Linked DNA regions of Homo sapiens: regions 1 and 2 are each linked to region 3. Evidence: promoter capture Hi-C in 16 types of primary human blood cells and fetal thymus (Javierre and others, 2016). All regions are on one chromosome and are shown on one strand. Each heading gives the region's core, a stretch centred on a gene start or on the middle of the fragment in contact. The rest is flanking DNA. Distances are from core to core; before and after follow the strand shown. Region 1 overlaps FARP1 (FERM, ARH/RhoGEF and pleckstrin domain protein 1). Region 2 overlaps FARP1 (FERM, ARH/RhoGEF and pleckstrin domain protein 1). Region 3 holds the start of FARP1 (FERM, ARH/RhoGEF and pleckstrin domain protein 1).

Evidence for each region. Contacts are between HindIII fragments. The CHiCAGO score rates a contact against its expected background, and 5 or more counts as called.
Region 1: a fragment that was not itself captured here is called in contact with the fragment with the promoter of FARP1 in region 3 in 1 of 17 cell types (endothelial precursors); the score reaches 7.1 in endothelial precursors.
Region 2: a contact is called between a fragment that was not itself captured here and the fragment with the promoter of FARP1 in region 3, in 1 of 17 cell types (endothelial precursors). The highest score is 6.5, in endothelial precursors.

The regions. Positions count from the first base shown.
Region 1 is chr13:98,442,775-98,446,838 of GRCh38, forward strand. FARP1 (FERM, ARH/RhoGEF and pleckstrin domain protein 1) reads left to right here. Exons shown (of 27, transcript NM_005766.4): 25 at 3,324-3,431; 26 at 3,892-4,043. STK24 (serine/threonine kinase 24) reads right to left here. Exons shown (of 11, transcript NM_001032296.4): 11 at 2,411-4,064. Among named protein-coding and RNA genes, the nearest start is that of FARP1-AS1, 9.0 kb to the left of the region's middle. RefSeq lists enhancers at 2,466-2,515, 3,286-3,335 and a silencer at 3,061-3,355. The HindIII fragment of the contact is 2,233 bases long and covers 135-2,367 here.
Region 2 is chr13:98,400,327-98,404,854 of GRCh38, forward strand. All of the region lies in intron 13 of FARP1 (FERM, ARH/RhoGEF and pleckstrin domain protein 1), which reads left to right. Among named protein-coding and RNA genes, the nearest start is that of FARP1-AS1, 33 kb to the right of the region's middle. The HindIII fragment of the contact is 748 bases long and covers 2,852-3,599 here.
Region 3 is chr13:98,141,569-98,145,850 of GRCh38, forward strand. FARP1 (FERM, ARH/RhoGEF and pleckstrin domain protein 1) reads left to right here and starts at 1,526. Exons shown (of 27, transcript NM_005766.4): 1 at 1,526-1,924. LOC105370328 (a long non-coding RNA gene) reads right to left here and starts at 2,342. Exons shown (of 3, transcript XR_931670.4): 1 at 2,271-2,342. RefSeq lists silencers at 977-1,026, 1,267-1,576. The HindIII fragment of the contact is 2,199 bases long and covers 989-3,187 here.

The sequences.
Region 1 (4,064 bases), core at 1-2,500, 300 kb after region 3:
GGCGTGTGTCTGAAACGAAGCCAGTCGATGTGTGGCGCCGCCACTGGGGAGGAACCGTCTTGGCCTTGCTTCGTCCTGACCTCAGCAATGTGTGAATTACGACTCTCAAGGCTGGGGTTTGTCATAGGCCTCAAAGCTTTTTACATACCTGGAGGCACCCAGGCCATTCAACGAGGCAGCAAATACCCAAGTGGGGTCCAGGTGGCCCAGAGCCACCTGCAGCCCAGCTTTTTTGGATAACAAATCTACACGGTCGCAGCCTTCCGTGTGCATGATCAGGTCAAGGCACTGAGTCAGGGGCACGCTGGCCCCCAGCCAGATCTAGCCCCGGCCTGGTGGCTTACAGCCTGCGAACCAAGAATGGGTTTCACTTTTTTTTAATGGCTGCTACATAATGTCTTCAGTTTTGCCCCTTGGCCTGCAAAGCCTGAAATATCTGCCGTCTGCCTTTTGAGGAAAAGTTTGCTGACCCTAGTAGAGAGCAGGAGAGTGAGCCACTGGCCAGTGGGGTTTGAAGGTGGCAGTGACCACCTAGTACAGTCAGGGACCTGGGCTGCTCTATCACTTTGCAGATGTCCCTCCTTGCCAGAAAGCCCCCTCCCAAGGCACGTGGCATCAATCTTGTGTCGGTGGCAGGCAGCCCTCATGTGCCAGACGCCAAATGCTCGCTGACTCGCAGATGAGCCATCCCCAGGGCCTCCTCCCTGCATGACAGGACAAAGCAGCTCCATCTCCTCCTGACTCAACAGCCTCCTCTCCCCAGTCCCGTGCCCAGCCTCTCCCAGTTCCCACTCCCGTCTGACTCGTGTAGGCACACTTGAGGAAGGGGCGTATCTGGGGACCGTGTGGCCTCACTGGCCTCTGCTAAAAGTTGTGGGCAAGCCGGCAGGCCTGGGGGCTCCCACTAGAGGTGGGGTCAGATGTTGGGATGGCCAGAGGGCTGCCCAGCCTGTGGGCACTAGAGCCAGTGAAGGGCCAGAGGCAAAGCAATGCAAGTTGTCTTTTAAGGCTGGAGTGGCGAGACGGGACAGCAGGGAAGTTGTTCAGCAGACAGAGCGCAGACAGGACTGGGAGGAGGGAAGGGACGGGGTGCAGACAGGACCGGAAGGAGGGAAGGGACAGTGAGGCCAGGGAGTGGCGGGCACGGGGGTTATATTTGTTCCCCGTGGCGTCACTCGGCACCAACCTCAGACTGGGTGAGGCCACAGAAACATCTCCCACAGTGCGGGAAGCCGGAAGTCCAAAATCAAGCTGCTGGCAGGTGGGTTCCTTTGGGAGGCCTTGAGGGAAAATGTCCCCACCTGACAGCATCTGGTGGCTGCGGCAGTCTTCTTCTCGGGGGGTCCCCGACTCCACCCATGTTGCAGGGCTCCGGTCTGCCGTGTCACCAGCTGTCCTCCCTGTATCTGCACTCTAATATCCTCTTCTAAGGACACGGCTCGTGCTGGGCTTAGGGCTCGTCCTAGTGACCTTACCTTGACTCGATCGCATCTGCAGAGACCCTGTGTCCATGTGAGGTCACCATTGTAGGCACGGAGGGTTTGGACTTGTTGGGGGTGCAATTCAACCCACAGCAGGGTCTGAGGGAATGGGATCCAAGAAGGGAGAGGAGCGGTGGCCCCAATGAAGGGCCACGAGGAGACAGGGCAGGCTGGTCTGGTTCTGAACAAGGATGTTGACCCTCTCGTGAAGGCAGTGAATGGAGACAGGTCTGGGAGCCACCAGCATGGCCTCGGCCTCCTGAGTGCAGGGCAGGAGACTCATGGCGCGCAGGGCCCGTAACACGCTGGAGGCCAGGATGGACCCGACACAGGGGAGCGGGAGGCTCGGCCCGGCCGTGGGGAGCGAGGAAGGGCCGCTGGATGTGCCTATTGATAAAGAGGTTTCCAGAGGCTATTGGAATGGCCAGGCAGAAGCTAGAGAGCGCTAAGGAAGCTGCTTTGGAAACAAATGGGCCCAGACTGTGATGGGTGACATGTATGAACCCCACTGTGGGCTGGCTGCTGTGTGAAAATTATGTGAGTCAGTATGAAAATACCTAGGAAAGGGGAGTGTGCCACCCTCCTTGCTCCATGTTGCGTGACCCAAGATGCCGCATGGGCATCAGCCCAGCCCTGGCCACCACCAGGACCTTCTGGGAACCTGGAGCCTTGCATTTTCTTGTTCCTTTCTGCCACTGGGGGAGGAGGATGGATGGCTGGAGCTGCCTGCCTGGCCTGGAATGCCCTTTCTCCCCGTCTGCGGGGTCCCCCACATCCTGCAGCCCCTCACGGACCTACTGTCAGTGTCCATGTCTCCCACTGGACCCTCCCTGAGCAACTGGAGGGCAGGGACATCAGACCATTTGATCCCAGCTCCCAGCACAGAAGCTTAGTGCCAGGGGCACCCAGAGAGATGGAATGAGGCAGACTCGGAGGTCTGTATTTTTTATTGTGGTAAAATAGCTATACCACAATATTGGCCAACTTAACGATTTTTACGGGAACAATTCAGTGGCATTAAGTGCCTTTACAAGGTGGTGCAACTGCTTTGAGTCTCTGCTGGTGATGTCACTTTGGCAAAGGGACGAAATGAGCCACCAGTGCGTCAGGCCTGCTCAGAGTTGTTTGGAGGTAGCATGGACACAGGTGCCTGTCCCTGCCCCCTAGCTGGGCTGCAGCGCATCCTAACAATGCTCCAGGGGCTGGGCCGGCCCTGAGCCTGGAGGTGGGCAGGGCTGCAACTGCCTCCTGGGCCACTAGAGGGCATGTGGGAGCCACTCACATGCACCCCAGGCCCCACTTCCTGGGTAGGGTGCCTGGCCCCTCAAAACGAGTGCTGCTCTGAGCTTGTTGGGATGGATCTTTCCCTCCTTCAGCTTCCGCCTGCTGGCAATGCATGGGGTCCTGCGCCCCCATTTCTGCCTCGGTGTCACAGGGCACACCCCTCTCCCCTCAAGGTGGCTCTTCTCCTCAGGACACCACTCCCGTTGGATTTAGGGCCCACCCTACCCCAGTGTGATCTCGTCTTCACTAGTTACCCTGCAACGAGCCTATTTCCAAATAAGCCTGTGTTCTAAGGTACTGGTAGTCAGGACCTCAACGTGTCTTTTGGGGGGACACAGGGACCCCAAGATGCCCCACAGCAAGTGACAAGGGGAAGTGATGAGATCAGGGTCCCAGGACCTGCCAAGTCTCCCCACACACGGGGGAGCGGGGGTGGGGCCCACATCCTTCAGTCACGGACATGCCCCAGCCCAGGGCCCTGGTGCAGGGAGAGCTGCTCTCTGTGCCCTCCTGGGGCAGGTGCCCGCTGTGCTTCTCACAGGCCTCCTTGCCTTTCAGAATCAGTTGTCTGGAAACCTGCTGAGGAAATTCAAAAACAGCAACGGGTGGCAGAAGCTGTGGGTGGTGTTCACAAACTTCTGCCTGTTCTTCTACAAATCACACCAGGTAAGTGTCTCGCACAGGGCAGGTGGCCCTGGGACCTTGGGGGTGGCAGCATGAGGTGAGGGGGCCGCCCTCCTCTGGAATGACTCAGGCCTCTTGGGCTCCAGGTGTCACGGGGATGACAGGGATGCTGGCGGGGGGCCCTGTCCACCCGAGGCCCTCAACTCTAGGGAAGACTGACATTATCATCCACTGAAGGACAACTTCTGCCCTAGGAAGGGCCACCTGTCTTCTGCCTGGACAAGGGACGGGGGTTGGCTTTATCTACAGCTCAGTCCTGGCGGGACTTGCCACCCGGGCCATCACGTACAGGCAAACACTGGCTGCCATGGTCCCTTCCAGGCCCACGCCCGAGGAGGGAGCTGCCTGGGCTCCCAAGTCCCTGTCTGATGCGGGGCAGCAGCCAGGCCCAGCAGCAGAAGCTGACCCCGAAAAGCCACTTTGCTTTGTTTCCCCTTTCCAGGACAATCATCCCCTTGCCAGCCTGCCTCTGCTCGGCTACTCGCTCACCATCCCCTCTGAGTCCGAGAACATCCAGAAAGACTACGTGTTCAAGCTGCACTTCAAGTCCCACGTCTACTACTTCAGGGCGGAAAGCGAGTACACGTTCGAAAGGTAGACACCCCCTTCCCACGC
Region 2 (4,528 bases), core at 1,976-4,475, 260 kb after region 3:
TTGTCAAGCAATTTCTAAAGGAAGAAACAATGTAAATATTAATCTGTCATTTTAAATGTTGTTGAAACTGCCATGAGTGTGCACACAGCTCTCTGTTTCATACCTGTAATCAGTATTCGCATGCTTTCAGTCCACTGTTTCTACTTAAAGCATTATTCCGTATTTCAGCACAGAATGACTTTGGTGAAACTGTAGCTGTTAGTGAGTAATTGCGTTACAGGCAGACCCAGTCTTAAATTAACAAATCTGGGTTCCCTTAACTATCAGGTTTATGTTGGTTTTATTTGCTTCTATCTGGATCCCTTCTCTTTGCCTGGGACCTTATTCTGATTAGCTAGATTTTTAAGAGCTTTTAAAGTTACATTCCCCAGAAAGACTTTTTTTCTCTGGACTTTCTCTTTTATGGTCTGTAAACATTTCTCCTCTGATGGTCATGGACTTAGTTCTAAGACTGGCCTTCCTCTAGTGTGATGGTATGAGTCTATTCTATTGCTGCTAAATTTTACAAATTGAACTGCAGAAGAGTCTTTCTAGGTAATCCCTGTAACAGAGCAAGTTTCTTTGAACCCTAGCCATGTATGTGTAGTGTTCCATTATTGGAACGCTAAGCATGTGGGAGTTATTTATATCTTACTGCTCACGGTCATCATCAAGGTCTGATTACAAAAATTCAAAAAATTACAACCTCAGGCATAAATTTAAAGAGGTGGCCATTTAAAAATAATCCGTTGCTACCATTTCCACTTAAAATGGTAGCTCTCTGATGAGTTTTATATTGGCTCTCTGTTAGCCAAGCCCGTAAGAGCATATGGAGAGAAAGGTACGATTGAATGAACTTCTGTGAGCGGCATAAAGACATTTACTCTGACAACATTAAAGAATTTACTGGTACTGTTTTTTTTCCTTGTTAGTTTAATTCCATCTGTTTCTGTTTAATTGAGTGAAACTTAATAAAAATGGTGTCTCTAGTGAGCACATGTACACACCTCTCCCAGTTGTTGGGATTTAAAATGAAGCTGTGACTTTTAGGCCAAAATTAGCGTGACACTTAATATAACAGTTTTCTTTCTATTAAAAAATAATGACAAAACACACACACACACACACACACAATCTGTATGATGATTTGGCCTGGAGTTGTAGACATCACAGATCAAAAGTGGCCTGGTGCTAGCTGTTTGGGTATATCCTTGAAAAGGGCAACTTTGTCATTTCCTAGAGTAACCTAGAGAGAGATTTCCAAGCATTTCCCCATGAACAGAAGTGGTAAATGCTGATTTATTGTGCCATATGTGTGTTTGGGAGGAGGGGAGATAGCGTCTTGTTTTGAAAAAAGTTCTCACTTCATAAAATAAACTGCACACCACTCCAAAAAAAAAAAAAAAGATGAAACCTCAAGCAGGAGGAACTTTTTTATTTAACCCCTAGTGAAAGCAATTAAACGTCTTGGTAGATGCTAGGGAAGAATTAGAAAATCTTCTTTTCCTGAAAGCTTTAAACATTGAATAGACTCTGATTTATTCAGGATCATTTCGGTGTAGATTGGCCACTCGACACAGACATCACAGCATGGTAGCCTCGAAACCAAGCCTTCAGCATCTTCTCGGCGCCCGGTGTTGGAGTGTTACTTGGAGTGGAGGCAGTGCATTTGCATCTTCATGTAGTCTCCAGATCAGGTTACTCTGATTTGTCTTGGAGTGGCTTTCTGTTTGAAAGTAGGGAAGATTAAAAATCAACTTGCCACGGGATATCTGATCTCCATGAGTAGTTGAAAGCCAGTCTAAAAGGTTAACTCTACAGGGCCGGCGCCGCCAGTGCGGTCATGGAAAATCGTGCTGTGAGATACTGGAGTGTGCTGCTGGGGCCAGGTGCAGCAATTGCAGAATGTTGAGGAGTGAGGAGTAGTTAGAAATCACTGCAACATGGAAAAGCACACAGACCAAGGACGCTAAGGAGGGAGCGAGGACTACCGGGCAGGTGTGCGTGTGTGGAGTAAAATGCATCGGACAGTGATTGACTCCACTTTTGAGTGAGATGTGGAGGCGGTAGTGGTGTGGGGGTTGTGAGGGAGTGAGTCTGCTTTATTATGAATCAGGATTGATAGCTGGCCTTAAAGTGGGAAATGATAGAAGGGTCACTTAGGAGCCTGCAGTGGCATGGTGACCAGTCTGTTATTACTCATAGATGACCTTTTCTGGCTCTTGAAACCAAGCTAACGACTCCTTTTTCTTCTGGGCCTCAAAGTTTCTTTGTAGGAAGTAAAGCATTTGTCACTTTCCCTGCAGTGATTTATTGAAAGACTGAAGATAGGTCTTCCTTAGTTAAGGACGCACACTGGCTGCTCGCTCCAGAAGCACCAAGAATGGCTGATGGATAAATCCCTTACCCATACTCCTGTTTCTGCCTCCTAAGGTTGCTGTGAAAACCTAACTAACCAAACCTCACCAGCTTGGCCTATATTATTAATCAAATTCCCTTCTGTTCTCTCTGTGTGTATATTTAATACTGTAGATAATATGTTTTATTTAAAATTTCTAATACACCAAATTAATTTGAAATAGAAAAGGCTGGGGACTTCATTCTCATTTTTGTCATTTGTTTAATCAGTTTGGGAAAACATTTTCCGTTGTTCCATTGTATGCAGTGTCTTGTCAGCATGTACCTATCTAGGAGAAAACGCTTTGTTTTCAGCGTTCTGTCTTTACCCTCAAAGCATGGTGTAGCTTCTGTTCTTACACTGTTGGAGCACTGTCTGATGTCTTTTTTTTTTTTTTTAACACTGCTGAATACCAATTTGTACTTGGAATACCTCTTTCCTCTAGAATACAGTGATCCTATTCCCCAAAGTGCAAGCTTTCATGTGGAAGCATCCTAAGTGATCGTCCTGGGTGATGCCATATTTCACTAAAGTGGGAAAAGAAGAGGTGAACTTTGCTCTTCCAACAAGGCTTGCACTTTATACTTTGGGCAGTGCATGGGAGAAGGGGGGCCCTTAGAGGTGAGCAGGATCACTGTAGCTAGAGGAGAGGTCTCACTGAAACAGAACGCATCTGTGACTGTAGCTTGCATGGAGAGCCTAGACAGCCAACCATGGATTTGCCTTTATGTTTTGAATGGAAACATCTATTTCAATTGGGATAGAAACCTTTACCTATGTCATATCTGTAAGAGAATTTAGCTTATAGATATGTAGATACGTGTGTGTGTTGCTGGGTGGGGAAGTGGGTGGGAATGTAGAAAAGGCCTCACCTGACTTGGTCCCAGTTGGCTTCTGATGGCCAAGGAGCTGTTTTTCATTTTGGTGGGCACCCAACATGTAGGTTCTCACAGATGCTGTCTGGTTTCTTCTTCTCTCCATGGCGGAACAATGAAGTACGTCAATAAAGCATGGACTCATACCACTGGGAAGAATGCTGGCTTCTCCAGTAACAATGAGCTTGGTGGTTCTTTGAGCATGGAAGGCCAAGCTCATGTCACAGTGTATGCACGGTATTAATATATCTCTTGTTGATCTAAACTGAAGGGGCTTTTACTTGTCCTAACAGGTATCATGCTGTAAAAACTGTCCATTGTAACTGTTCTTTCCCACTGATGGCTGAAGCTTTGTCCTGAGTACAAGATGGTATTTTTCATTGGTACGAAGCACCATGTTCCCAACCCAAACACTGCCTCCACCACCACCACCACCACCATCACCACCACCACTGCTACTACCAACATCACCACCACCATCACCACCACCGTGTTCAAACAAAGCAGCATTCTCCTGTGTCTTTTCCTCATAAGTAAGAACAAGGTAGCACATTCATTTTTCCATTAGTGCATTTCAATTCTTTTCCTGCAAGTTGCATTGCTATTGCTTTTCTGAATTGCTTGATGATGAACTGTGAAGCTGATGCTTAGCTGCTTGTGAAACTTTTCTTAAAGGAACTGGGTCTAAGAAGCACACATACATTACCCTCAACAACCTCAGGTATCAAGAAGAGGACCACACTGCTAACATGGGTAATCCTATAACCTGGCTTTTCTTGTGGAACTTTGTAATTTCTATAAAATACCGCCAGCTTTGCGTATTCCACTGAGCCCCAACTTAGATATCAGACGCTAGTGAGTCCTGCCTATTCAGGAAGCTACGTATTATTCAGCATAATACTGCCCTTTTTTTTGATAACTGGCTTTCAAATGGGATAATCTCAAGAGAGGTTTCATTGTATCCTCTTAGAGCGTATGGATTTAAATAGAGCCTTTCAAAAAAATAGATGAAAACCTACATCTCTAATATATTTCCTACTTGGGCCTTTTGAGCATATTCTGGGCACATAGAGAGAAAATCTCCTATGTTTTAGAACAGAATAAAAGAAGACAAATTATGGTAGATAAGTGGCACCCAGAAGATTGCAAAATAAATAATTTTATGTGGGGGAATATTGAAGAAAAAGCATAGAAACTTTTTTATAATTGCACTTTAAAATTTTGGAAAAGAAAAATTGAGAATGCAATCAGTAGTCTCATTTTTGTCAGTATTCTG
Region 3 (4,282 bases), core at 276-2,775:
ACTGTGATCCTCCAAGTGTGATCCCAGGACCAGAGCAACATCACTATCTGGGAATTTGTTAGAAATGCAAACTCTCAGGCCCCACCCCAAACCTACTGAATCGGCAGCTCTGGGGATGGAGCCTGACAGTCCTTTATCCCTGCAGGCGATTCAGATGCTTGCTAAGGTTTCATTAGGTAGGTCGGGGATGCGGCCCAAGAATGTTCATTTCTTGACGTTTCCAGGGGCTGCTGGTGGTGGTCGTGGTCTGAGAACCACACTTAGAGAATCACGAGCAGAAAAAAATCTGATCTGTGACACACAGCTGGTTGGGCTGACAGAGCAAAGCCTCAAACCCACCATTTCTTCTCTTCAACCACAGACCACCAAATCTGCAAGTATTACATCTCTGCTCCTCCCCAGGAGCTGCCCACAAGCACCCCCTACTTCCAAGACCCCTGTTCTTGTCTCAACCCGCCCTTCTATCAGGGTCCCTACACTCCACTTCTGCCCAGCTCCTGTCCAGCTGTGAGTTCACTTGAGGCCTCTCCCGTGAAATCTGCCCTCTCGGTCTGAGGTCAGGGAACTCCTGTAAGACGCAAAAGGCCCACGGTTCTGAGCCAGTGGCCTCCGAAGGCCGGAATCCGCTAGCCCCGGGTCTGGCAGAACGTCACTTGCTGCGCCCTAGGCCTCTTCCCGCCACGCTTAGAGAGAGGGACTGGAGGCTCAGAAGGGGGAAGAGAAGGTAACGCGGCAGCTGCTGGGTGGGGACGGTGACTGTGCCCCTAGATCGCTGCCTCCTGGGTCCTGAATCTTGCTCCCCGCTCCGTAGAGTTCCCGAAACCCCGAAGGCTCTCAAGCACCGCAAGCCACTCCTAACCTCCCCCACGCCATTCCCCAAGGGCACTGTCCCCCGAGGCTGGGCGGGCGGGAACTGTCATGGGATTCGCTCGGGCGGAGGGCGCTGGGCCAGGACGTGGGCGGGCGCGGGGTGGCCGCCGCTCCCCCAAGCTTAAGTCCCGCGCAGCCCGGGGTGGTGCCGGAAGCCCGTGCCTGTGGCTCCGGGGGAGGGGAGGGCTCGGTGGGTCCCTGAAGACTGTCCTCCCCGCGCGACGTCGCAGGCGAAGCAGCCCCAGGCAGGACCTCAAAAAGCGACCTGCAGAGTCCGAGCCCCTGACCGCCCGCCTGCCGCTCCCGGCTTCGCCGTGCACACGTCTCCCGCTCTCCCCGGTTCGTTTTTCGCCACAGCTGCTGGATTCGCGTCTCGCCAGTGGCGCTCCCCGCGCTGCATTAGGTAGCGCCGCGCGGAGCCCGGCCCTGGCCGGAAGCCCAAGAGAGGCGCAGATCCCCGGCGGCGCGCTGGGCTCGGGAGGCCCCTGGGCGCACCTGCCCGGGCGGAGCGGAGCGGGGCGGGGCGGGCGCAGGGCGCGGGCCCGGACGCTGGAGGGGGCTGTGGCTCTCCCGCGTCCCCGCTGCTCGGGCTGCGCGGCGCCCGCCTCCCCCCGCCGAGGGGCCGGCCCAGACCCGGGGAGGGGCGGTGGCCACTGCACTTCCCGCTCGCCGGCCTCAGAGGCGGCGGGTCCGGCGCGGGCGCAGCGGTGCGGGCGCTCGGCTGGGGCGCGGGGCGGGGACGCGGCCGCTGCCCGCTTTGCGCCGCTCCTCCCTGCGCGAGTAGCGCTGGCCCCGGCGTCGAGGCGGCCATGGCGACCCGGAGCCCGCTCCCCACCCACCCCGCCTGCTCCGCCCTCCCCTCCGCCCCGCGCCACCTTTGATGGCTCGGACCTCAGCCGGCCACCGCCAGCCCTGCTCGCGCGCCCGCGCCGCCGCCGCCCGCGGGTATTAATAGCCGGCGCCGCCGCGCCCTCGGCCGCCGGGGGCTTGGGAGCCGCCGATCCCGGAGCCCGAGCCGGGAGAGGGAGCCGCCGCAGCCGCCGGCGCTGTGGAGGTAGGAGGCGCGCGGTGAACAATGACCGCGGCGGGAGGGCGGGGGCCGGCGGGGTCCGGGCCGCGGGCGGCAACTTGTGCGAGTCCAGGCTCCCGCAGCGCACGGCCGCGGCTGCGGGCGAAGGTGGGCGCGTGGTCCCCGAGGTCCTGCCCTGCGCAGTCGGGCGGCGGGTCGGGCCCGGGCAGCCCCGGCCACCATCGCAGGAGCTCGGGGGCCTCGGGGCTCCGGGCTGCCCCCTGCGCCCCTCTCCCCTCACCTCCGCCGACGTCGGGCTGCGGGGCTCCGCGCCGGTCCCCGCTCGCCTCCCCCGACCCCGGCGCCCTTCCCCCGTTTCCTTCCGTCCTACCCGCCCGCTGACAGCGCTGGACGCCGCTTCCGGACCTCGGGCCGCAATCTCGGCCCCTGAGGCCGGTTGCGGGCCGGGGAGGTGGCCGCTGGCGCGGATGCCGCCGGGTGCCCGCCGCTCGCCCACGCGCGGCGCGAGGGTTCCCGGCGGGTGACAAAGAGGAACACACCCTCTGCCCAAGTTAGATTTGTGTCTCTCTTTACTGTCTGCCTTTATGCAGGGCAAAGTTTTTTTTATTTTTTATTTTTTAAAGCAAAGGACAGATTGCTTTGCGGCGAGTATTTCCAAACAACTTCTGATTGTGGTTTTACGATTCAAGTTCCGGAAACTTTAGCTGTGTGATCCGGCTGGACCCCGGAGACTCTGTGTGTGTGTGTGTGTGTGTGTGTTTTATTTGAGGGGGGGAAATACGAATTCCCTGTAATGAGTCTGGATCTCGTTTGTGGCAGCTGGAGGCCAGCGGCTGTTGGGGATCGAGTAGGGTTCCCCAGAAAGGAGGGAGCTGAGGCTCACAAAGAAGCGAGGCCCTGGTATCTGATCAGTTCGTGGAGACGTGGGAGAGCCTGCTTGTCATCTGGAACAGTTTAGCAGCCTCGGCCTCCCTGTCTCTCCCAGCCCTGGGGAGTACCGGTGGCCTCTGGCCGTTTCATTATATTGTTGTTAAGGCTCTTCTCCTTGTCAGTTTACCAGGTTTGACCGCCCAGCCCTGGTCTCTGCGTGGAAACCCCCGGGGGCCCCTCTCCTTCCAGTAGGCAACATCTTCAGAGCCAAACCCTGGCCTAGCACTGGCTTCTGTTTAATGTGCTTTGCACGTGGTGACTTGCGGAGCCCATTTCAGAACATCCTCCAGCATTGTCTTGCTTTTCTTATTCAGTCTGAACAAGGAGAGGAGAAAGAAACATCTTTCTGGTCCTGAAAGCTTTAGGGAGAGTTGCCTTAAAAATTGGCTTCGTTGTTCCGGAGACTTTAGGAGGGCCCTGCTTCATCCTATCTTTGGCTTTCTCCCTCCTTCCACAGTGTTCTCGTAGGGGGTTTATTCTCAGTCTTTCGGATGGGTTGGTCTCCAGGATGTGACAGTTTCTGACAGTGTGCTTCATAAGTGGGTACAGCTAGCACATGGCTCACTTTATATTCCTGCAGCATCGTTCTGCAGCAAGGCATCAATATTGGAGTTACTCCAAGCACAACGAAGCGTTTGTGTTTTTAGAATGTCTGGCTAATAGATCTGCTTCTGGGTAAAATAAATAGAAGCATTATTGGGCAATGGCTGCTTTACTGAGGGAATTGTTGGTGGAGACAGTGAGTAGATGCCTTCCTAGCCCAGCGCCTCCCAGAATCTCTTACTTGTTTCTTTTATGTGAATGGGAAACTGGAAACCCTCGGTGTGGAGGTGGCTGTGCCTCCTAGGGGCAGATTCTATGGTGCACCACCCCGCCCCCGTTACTTGGGGTGTGGTGTTTCATTGAGAAGTTCTGTCACTGTGGGAATCCTTTTGAAGCGTGGTTTCTAATGCCCCCTTTCACATTGATATTCTCTTCCTTTAATTGATACAGGGATGGATTTATTCCTTGCTTCATAATAGAATGTTAACTTTACTCTGTAGCCAGACTTATCAAAGAAGATCTTAAAATAATTATCCTGGACAAGTTTCTTACTGGGTTATTGCATTCACCTCAGAATTATCCAGAGTTTACAAGGAACCTGGAGGAACGTTTTTGTTTCACTTTTCGTTAAAGAAACTGTCCAAGGGGGCTGGGCATGGTGGCTCACACCTGTAATCCCAGCACTTTGGGAGACCGAGGCGGATCACTTGAGATCAGGATTTCCCAGCCTGGCTAATATGGTGAAACCCTGTCTCTACTAAAAATACAAAAATTAGCCAGGGGTGGTAGCAGGTGCCTGTAATCCCAGCTGCTCAGAGGCTAAGCCAGGAGAATCGCCTGAACCCAGGAGGCGGAGGTTGTAGTGAGTTGAGATTGGGCCACTGCACTCCAGCCTGGGCAACAGAGTGA